2 separate regions of the Homo sapiens genome follow, and region 1 is linked to region 2. Evidence: promoter capture Hi-C in 16 types of primary human blood cells and fetal thymus (Javierre and others, 2016). All regions are on one chromosome and are shown on one strand. Each heading gives the region's core, a stretch centred on a gene start or on the middle of the fragment in contact. The rest is flanking DNA. Distances are from core to core; before and after follow the strand shown. Region 1 overlaps TNS3 (tensin 3). Region 2 holds the start of LINC00525 (long intergenic non-protein coding RNA 525).

The links. The method cuts DNA at HindIII sites, captures the fragments that hold promoters and counts their contacts. A CHiCAGO score of 5 or more calls a contact.
Region 1: a contact is called between a fragment that was not itself captured here and the fragment with the promoter of LINC00525 in region 2, in 3 of 17 cell types (total B cells, naive B cells and M0 macrophages). The highest score is 10.0, in total B cells.

The regions. Positions count from the first base shown.
Region 1 is chr7:47,528,205-47,532,933 of GRCh38, forward strand. TNS3 (tensin 3) reads right to left here. Exons shown (of 31, transcript NM_022748.12): 2 at 832-943. Among named protein-coding and RNA genes, the nearest start is that of TNS3, 52 kb to the right of the region's middle. The HindIII fragment of the contact is 5,206 bases long and covers 1-4,427 here.
Region 2 is chr7:47,759,595-47,764,434 of GRCh38, forward strand. LINC00525 (long intergenic non-protein coding RNA 525) reads left to right here and starts at 1,882. Exons shown (of 3, transcript NR_038407.1): 1 at 1,882-1,919; 2 at 3,779-3,984. The HindIII fragment of the contact is 4,383 bases long and covers 879-4,840 here.

The DNA.
Region 1 (4,729 bases), core at 575-3,074, 230 kb before region 2:
CATCCTCAACCCATTAAGGTTTGACTGCGTGCATCGTTCCATCACAGGCACCCTACTCTAAAGTGGCCATCAGGGACCATCTGCTGGGGGTCTGCAGGGAAGGAGGCACTGAGGGGGAGGTCCTAACAGCACAGAAGCCCACAGGCTGAGACTCTGCACATTTTCTAGAGGAAATCCCCAACCCCGCAGATGAAATGATGCCAAAGAGCAGCCCCCGCACTCTCCAAGGACCTGGTCCTCCTAGTGACTCCCTCTGTGTGGTGTACCCCACTGGTCCGCCAAGCAGCCCCTGCCCCCCACCACTCCCACATTCATTACAGTCACACCTCTCTTACTAGATTTATTAATGTGCAGTCACAAAAGAATTGGCAAGTTCCATTCATTACTTGACGTCTAAATATCTGGTACCCAAGCTGGTGGCTTAGTTTAGTGACAGGATCTGAAAGGGGCCATACCAAAATGAACCCGAAATCTAAAGATAGAAACATTTCATTCGCAAACTTGAGTAACAGATCTGAAAGTCAAACTAAACAACCTGAGTTACTGACACTTCAGAGCAGACCTGAGAATAAATGATTAATTTACAAATTGCTGCCTCCTCTCCCATCGGGAAACTCTGCTCTTTCTGTAAAAATGTCCTCATGAGCACTTATCTATGTAAATACGGTTGGCCCCTGCTAAGTAAGGGGGTAGGGGGTTGGGGGACATATAAACTAAGAAGGGGAATTCCATGATTTAACTTTCGGAAACTCCTGAAAAAAAGTTTTCGTTTTGTTTCTTGTTTGTTTTGCTCTGGATTAATCAGTGAGAGAATCATAAACACAGACTTACCTCGGCATGAAATACCTTGACCGTCAATAATTTGTTTGCAAACTCCACACACTTTGGATTTTTTAAAGGCCTTGTTCTTAAAAGCGTGCAGACTCGAGGTTAATTCTTCCGGCTGAAAAAGTAAAGGAAGAAATTGTCAACGTTTCATCTCATAGTTTGTTTCTTTTTCCTTTTCATTTAAGGGAAATAATAAATCTAGTGGAATTGTAAAGAGCAAAAACAGGAATTTTACCAAGCAAACAGAGAACAAGAAACCATCTTGGTGATGCTAAAATTCCCAAGACGACCCACGGATACCATGTTAGCATTCCCAATTCCAGAGTCCTAGACGGACGTTCACTCTCACCCAACTCATCAATCACCACATGGGGTGCCTAGAAACATTACATCAACCAACATCATTATGTGAAAATGCACTCCCTTCCAGACTTCAGCCGTAGAGCCACCTACTTCTGTGACAAAGTAATCCACATACACTTCTAGACTCTCAACCCTTTTTCTTCTGGAAAAAGTAATTAGCTAAACAGCATAATTATGTTATGAGGAAGTCAACTGGCTTTCCTGGTTCAAAGGTGTTCCAGAATCACCATTAAGCTCTTGAGCCTCTCTGAGCTCTCCTGCAGAAGAAGAGACAGTCCAGCCTGTGATACACATGTGGTTCTTCCTCAAACACAATTACAAGCATTAGCACTTGGAAAAACTAACCACTCAGCTACCTATTCATGTTTGTAGAGCCAAGGCTCTCAGCTATATGATAACCTTATAAGAATTCAATTTGCTTTTAGAGTCAAGCACTAATCATGTCTATTTGCTGATATGTGACCGTGTATTCTATCAGTACTTAATATCCATATGGATTCAGTGAGGCCATTACTCACCCACTGGAATAATTAAATTTATTTGAAAAGATGAAATGGTATTTAGAATGTGGAATAAATGGTACAACTACTTTAGAAAATGGTTTGACAATTTCTTATAAACTTAAACATACACCTAACCTATGACTCAGCAATTCCATTCTTATTTACACTAAAGAGAAATAAAAGCCTATGTCCACAAGAGAAAGAAAGGTCATAACAGCTTTATATAACCCAAATGTCCATCATAATAACTATTCTATATGCTAGAAAGTTAAGTAGAGATCTGAAAAACATAAAAAGATCCAAATCAAACATTCATTGAGGAAAATGTAAGAATACAGTGCAAGATACACTGGATGCGATTACTGGCAGATTAGATCCTGCAGAAGCACAGGTGAATGAACTTGAAGACATCACAGTACGAACCTCCCAACGCAAAGCACACAGAGATGAGACAACCTAAATAAACAAATAAACAAGCATCAGTAAGCTGTGGGAGAACTTTAACCAACATAACATATGTGTAATGGAGACTGACGGAGAAGGGCAGGGAAGGGGGGATATTTGAAAAAATAATGGCTGAAACTTTTTCAAACCAGGAGGAAAACTATAAACCCACAGATCCAAGAAACTCAAGAAATTTCTTGGCCAGGCTCGGTGGCTCACACCTGTAATCCGAGCACTTTGGGAGGCAGAGGCGGGTGGATCACCTGAGGTCAGGAGTTCCAGACCAGCCTGGCCAACACGGTGAAACCCCGTGTCTACTAAAAATACAAAAAATTAGCCGGGCATGGTGGTGGTGCCTGTAATCCCAGCTACTCGGGAGGCTAAGGCAGGAAATCGCTTGAACCCAGGAGGTGGAGGTTGCAGTGAGCCGAGATCGCGCCATTGCACTCCAGCCTGGGCAACAAGAGTGAAACTCCATCTCAAAAAAAAAAAAAAAATATATATATATATATATATTTCTAGCACAAGAAATGTGACAGGAACTACCCCAAGGCATACAATAATCAAATTGCTTAAACCCAGTAACAAAGAGAAAGATCTTAAAAACAACCACGGGGCCAAAAGACACATTACATGCAGGGAACCAACCAATAGGATAACAGGTTTCTCATTGTTTTAAAAAATATAAGTGAGAAGACAGCAGTATAATAGGAAATACTGAAAGATGGACACAAAGAAGGGAACAGACACCAGGGCCTACTTGAGGGTGGAGGGTGGAAGGAGGGTGAAGATTGAAAAACTACCTATCGAGTACTACGCTTATTACCTGGAGGAGGAAATAATCTGTACACCAAACCCCCACAACACACAATTTACCTATATAATAAACCTGCACATGTACCCTGAATCTAAAAGTTAAAAAAATAAACAAAATAGAATAAAACAAAATACTGAAAGAAAACTTGTCAATCTAGAATCCTGTACCCAATAAAAATAGCTCTTCAAAATAAAAGTGAACCAAAAACTTCTTAAAATATGCAAAAAAAGATATACAATTAAAGCCCAAAAAAAATCATCACCAGCTGACACCTATGACATATTAAAGACAGTGCTTGGGCAAAAAGGACATGGCAGATGGAATTATGGCTTTACACCAACAGATGAAGAGCACCAGAAATGCTAATTACACAGGTAAATTTATGAGTTTTTCTTATTATTTAAAGCTCACCAAAAGATAATTAACTGTTTAAACAATAGTGTAATGTGACATGTGACATATGTAAAAGTAAATTTTCTGAAAAAATAGCACAAAGTTCAGGAAAGAAGAAAAGGAAATATACTATTGATGACAGCGGTTGCTACCATCACGCTGGCTGCAGCAGGGAGGTGAGGCTGGGGCTGCACTCTCCATGGAGCCGGTGGGAGCTCCACCCCTTCTGAGTTGGGGTGGGAACTCCCTGGGTGCCACTGCAGCTGCCCAAACTGCAGCTGTAGATCCAAGCCTCCCTGCGCTCTTGAGTGGGGCCAGGAGCAGGCAGGATCTGCCCCCCGGGGTGCAGCTGCAGCCACCATCCACGGCTGCAGACCTGGGCCTCCCACTCCACCACACAGGCGGGAGCTGGGGAAAAGCAGGAGCTCCCTGAGTGCAGGCAGCTGCAGCCACCCTCCCAGGCACAGCACCCAGGCATCTCTGCGGCCTGCACCCTCGGGCGCATGGGAAGCCCCCCCCCGCCCACCATCCCTGCTGGCTCAGGAGTGTCTATTCTGGCTGCCTGGCCTGTCTCCTCTCCCGGCCCCCCACCTCTCATCTCAGAGCGGGATTGGGGACAAGTACCAGGGCCTTGAATGGCAGCGGTAGGCAAAGTCCTGGGCAGAAGGGGGTGGGTCCTCAGTAAGGCCCCACCTTCAGGCCAGGGAGGGCCTGTAGGCTGGGGACGGGCTGCCAGTCCCACAGACTGGAGTGGGGACTCATGGTGCCTCTTCCAGCCAGCCCATGGCCGCCCATGGACCAATCAGCAGGCACTTCCTCCCCTCCAAGGGCTTTTCCATGTTCAGCCAGAGCAAGAGAGAGGACAGAGAGAATGGAGAGACCACAAGAGACCAGCTGCACAGAGGAGCTACCCTCTCTGCCGAGAGCTTCAGAGACCTGCAGAGATGTTGGGACTTCCAGCTGCAGAGAGGAACTACCCTCTCCAGGGCCTCCTCTCTGCTGAGAGCAGCAGAGGTCGGGATGACCTGCCTACAGAGAGGACACTGTGGGTCTCCTCTGAGCTGTTTAACACTTAATAAAGCTTATCTTCATCTTCTTCACCCTTCCCCGTCTGCCTATCTCATTCTTCCTGGACACAGGACAAGAACTCAGGCAAAGGTGCCACTGGCCACAGAGGTTTCCAGCCAGAAATTGGACACCCCAAAGATCCCATAAGACTATTATAAGGCTCTCATAGTATTCATGAAGTGGATATAATATCACTTGAAGGTAGCCTGTGATGTTACAGAGGTATAGTATAAACCCTAGAGCAACCACTAAAATCATGAATTATAGGTAATAAGCAAACAAGAGAGATAAAATGAAATAATAAAAATTATTC
Region 2 (4,840 bases), core at 632-3,131:
CTTCTTCCTTGCAGAAACTCGCTAATCCATATGAATGGTCTGTTGTTCACGAGCATCTGGTTCCCTTAACAACCTGTGGCCTGTTTACTCCATGGGGAGAATCTGGTCCTCAGAGCAGCTTTAGGGTCCATGCACCTTACTGGACATCCATAATGCACCACAGAGTGTGGTGCAGCAATATGCCATGTGAGGATTTTTTAATCCTTGAAAAGTTGGGTGAAGAGGATAAGATTTTTCGTATAAGATAATACAGGCTTCAAAAAGTTGGAAAAAGAGCACATTTAGAAAGTCCCAGAGCTGGGATTTGAACCCCTGTGCTTCTGATTCTAAATTGCTTCCCACCACGCTCATGGTGACCTCTAGAAGGTGTTAGTGAGGTGGAGATGTACCCGGTAATCCTGCCAGTGCATCTGTGCACTGATTCTCTATTGCTGGCTGTCCTTCTTGGCATCTTATTCAACAATAGCTACTGTAAGGGGGGAAATAGTCTTATATTTTGTGAAAGAACTCAAATGGCCAATTCATATATGGCCAGTTTACTTAAGAATGAATTACCGACCGGGCACAGTGGCTCATGCCTGTAATCCCAGCACTTTGGGAGGCTGAAGCGGGTGGATCCCCTGAGGTCAGGAGTTTGAGACCAGCCTGGCCAACATGGCAAAACCTCATCTCTACTAAAAATACAAAAATTAGCCGGGTGTGGTGGCTGGCACCTAAAATCCCAGCTACTTGGGAGGCTGAGGCAGAAGAATTGCTTGAACCCAGGGGGCGGAGGTTGCAGTGAGCCCAGATTGTGCCACTGCACTCCAGGCTGGGCAACGGAGCAAAAACAAAAAACAAAAAAGAATGAATTACCAGGCTCTAAAAACCTATCAGTAAGCTTTTTTTTTTTTTTTTTAAAGACGGAACTTGATGCTAAGGAAATTGCAACAACACAATGTCCTAATACACTGTTGACAAGATTAAAAAATTTTTTATTTTTAATTTTTGTGGGTACACAGTAGGGGTATATATTTATGGGGTACGTGGGATGTTTTAATACAGGCATGCAATGTGAAATAGGCACATCATGAAGAATGGGGTATCCATACCCTCAAGCATTTATTCTTTGTGGTATAAACAATCCAATTATACTTTTAATTATTTTAAAATGTACACTTAAATTATTATTGACTATAGTCTCCCTGTCGTGCTATCAAATAGTAGGTATTATTCATTCTTCTATTTTTTTTTTTGGTACCCATGAACCATTCCCACCTTATCTCCCCAGTCCTCTACTATCCTTTTCAGCCTCTGGTAATCATCCTTCCTATTCTCTATGTCCATGATTTCAATGGTTTCGATTTTTAGATCCCACAAATAAGTGAGAACATGTGATGTTTGTCTTTCTGTGCCTGGCTTATTTCACTTAACATAATGTCCTCCAGTTTCGTTCCATCCATGTTGTTGCAAATGACAGGATCTCATTCTTTTTATGGCTGAATAGTACTCCATTGTGTATATGTACCACATTTTCTTTATCTGTTCATCTGTTGATGGACTGTAAATTTGCTTCTAAGTCTTAGCTATTGTGAACAGTGCTGCAACAAACATGGGAGTGCAGATATCTCTTCAATATACTGATTTCCTTCCTTTTGGGTATAGACCCAGCACTGGGATTGCTGGATCATATGCTAGTTCTATTTTTAGTTTTTTGAGGAACCTCCCAACTGTTCTCCATAGTGGTTGTACTAATTTACATTCCCACTAACAATATACTAGTGTTCCCTTTTCTCCACATCCTCACCAGCATTTGTTATTGCCTGTCTTTTGGATAAAAGCCATTTTAACTGGGGTGAGATATCTCATTGTAGTTTTGATTTGCATTTCTCTGATGATCAGTGACGATGACCACCTTTTCATATGCCTGTTTGCCATTTGTAAGTCTTCTTTTGAGAAATATCTATTCATTTCTGATTTTTTATTTGGATTACTAGATTTTGATTTCTGATTGGATTACTAGATGTTTTCCTGTTGAGTTGTTTGAGCTCCTTATATATTCTGGTTATTAATTCCTTGTCAGATGGGTAGTTTGCAAATATTTTCTCCCATTCTGTGGGTTGTTTCTTCACTTTAAGAAGATCATTAATTGCCTTAATCATTCTAAAAAGTGATTTGGCAAATAAGGGTTGAATTGTGTCCCCCAAAATGTCTATGTCCAAGTCCTAACCCCTAGTACCTCAGAATGCAACTGCATTTGGAAACAGGGTTTTTGAAAATGTGATCAAATTAAAATGAGGTTATACTAGAGTAGAGTGGGCATGTAATCCAATATGACTCATCCAATATGACCGGTGTCCTTATAAAGAAGAGGAGATTTGGCTGGGCATGGTGGCTCATGCCTGTAATCCCAGCACTTTGGGAGGCCGAGGTGGGTGGATCACCTGAGGTCAGGAGTTCAAGACCAGTCTGGCCAACATGGAGAAACCCTATCTCTACTAAAAATACAAGAAAAAAAAATAGCTGGGCATGGTGGCAGGCACCTGTAATCCCAGCTACTTGGGAGGCTAAGGCAGCAGAATCGCTTGAACCCGGGAGGCAGAGGTTGCAGTGAGCCGAGATTGCGCCATTGCACTCCAGGCTGGGCAACAAGAGTGAAACTCCATCTCAAAAAAAAAATTAATAAATACATAAAAAATAATAAAAAGGGGAAATTTGGACCCAGACATGCCTGGAGGGAAGATGATGGGAAGAGACACAGAGAGAAGATGGTTGTCCTCAAGCCAAGGAGAGAGGCCTGCAACAGATTCTCCTTCAGCCTTTAGAAGGAACAACACTGCCAACACCTTGATCTTAGACTTCTGTCCTCCAGAAATTGTGAGACAATGCATTTTTGTTGTTTAAGGCAACCAATTTGTGGAACTTTGTTCTGGCAGCCCTAGCAAATGAATACAACAAAATATATACTGTATTGAGAACCTTAATATTGGCAATACCATTTGCACAGGAACTCCTTGCCTTTGGTTGCCACCTAAGAAATCATGCATATGGACATGGAATTACACATAAAGTATATTTAGCTAGTTTTTCTTCAACATGCTATTGCAGGAGGACAATTCAAAAATCTTTCCAACTCCCACCTGATTTCTGAAGGTTCTCTGGGAGCCTGCGCATCAGCCATCAAAACACACTTGTCACATTTTTCTTTCCTTTTGGCCTCCTTTAGTGAAGTCAGCTGCCTGAGGCTGGGCGGAGGTGCTCAGCACTCCCTCTGGTTTGTGGGGGGCTGGGGTGGGTCACACTTATTCTACTGGATATCACTGTTCCTGGGCCCTGCCACCACTCTCAGCCCTGGTGCTGTGGATTCTGTTCATGAGAGGGGCTGAAGTCAAGCCTCCCTCTCAGGCCCAGATCTGAGTCTACAGGTCAGCCGGGGCTGGGGCCTCACGGTAGCAGGTGGTGACAGAGGACATGTCATTGTCGCAGTCACTGAGGACACTGGTTCTCATAGCCCAGCCTCTGTGCCTGGACCTCAGCTATAGGCCTGGCCCCATTGTGCTCTCCCTGATGAGAATCTCCAGGCCTTGAGCTACCTGACTCTTCCCAGTTGGCCAGACACATCCCAGTGAATGATCATCATCCTGCTCTCATCTCATAGCCAGCTGATCAGTCTGTTCACCCTCCACCTACTCAAGTACAGAGTGACACACCCCAAGCAACAATCGCATGAGAAATTCTACCACCTGGGGAGGGCAGAACTGGGACAGACTTCTTTCATTTTCTGATCTGCTTTTGCCAGATGTCCTCTGTAGCAAGAGGCAGGACAAACAGTGAGGACTGCACCAACACTCACCGGGTGACCCCTTTGCTTTGGAAACTTACTCAGGGTGAAAGGAATTCCGATTTTAAACAGCATCTCTTTGTGTGGCCTGTTTGAGGCACCACACAGAGCTTGCTGGAGCAGCTCTGTTGACCGCTGACCCTTGGCCTGCTAACTGAAACAAGGTGAGTATTTCTAAGGCTGTCGTGGCCACGGGAGGACCGGAGAATAAATGTGGACCTATTTACATTCTCTTTTCCCTGAAGGTGATAAATGGCTTCCCCCATCCAAACCAGGCCCCTCTAGGGCCTTTATTTGCTATTCTGGTTTTAAAAGGCAGACGGAGAATGTATTGAGTTATCTTTCAACTGTTTACTAGCAGAAGGGCAAAGATCAGATTACCAGCTCAGAGTGATTCATCTTTTCTCCCAAATCAAAGCCATATGTACACAGAGTCTGTGTACACATTAGTTCATTTCATTCATTCATCTAGGTCAGGAGAGGGAGACCTGGGACAAAGGTCCCGCAGAAAGAGATGGAGGCATCAGGCCACAGACAGTGAGCAGCATGGGTTTTTCTCTGCCTCCACATTAGGACTTTAATGTTTTTTTTTTTTGTTTAAAAAAAACAAAACTGCCTGATTTCCTGTCAGGCCAACTAATGATGTTTTTTCCCCAGGTTTCTGGTATAGAGGATGTTTTAATTTGAGAGAAGTTTCCACCTACAAAAACACATATTTGTCCGGGCATGGTGGCTCACGCCTGTAATCCCAGCACTTTGGGAGGCTGAGGCAGGAGGATCATGAGGTCAAGAGATCTAGACCATCCTGGCCAACATGGCGAAACCCCGTCTCTACTAAAAATAAAAAAATTAGCTGGGCATGGTGGCGCATGACTGTAGTCCCAGCTACTTGGGAGGCTGAGGCAGGAGAATCTCTTGAACCCCGAGTTCAGAGTCAGTCAGTTGAGATCGCGCCACTGCATTTTAGCCTGGTGACAGAGCGAGACTCCGTCTCAAAAAAACAAAAACAAAAAACCACAT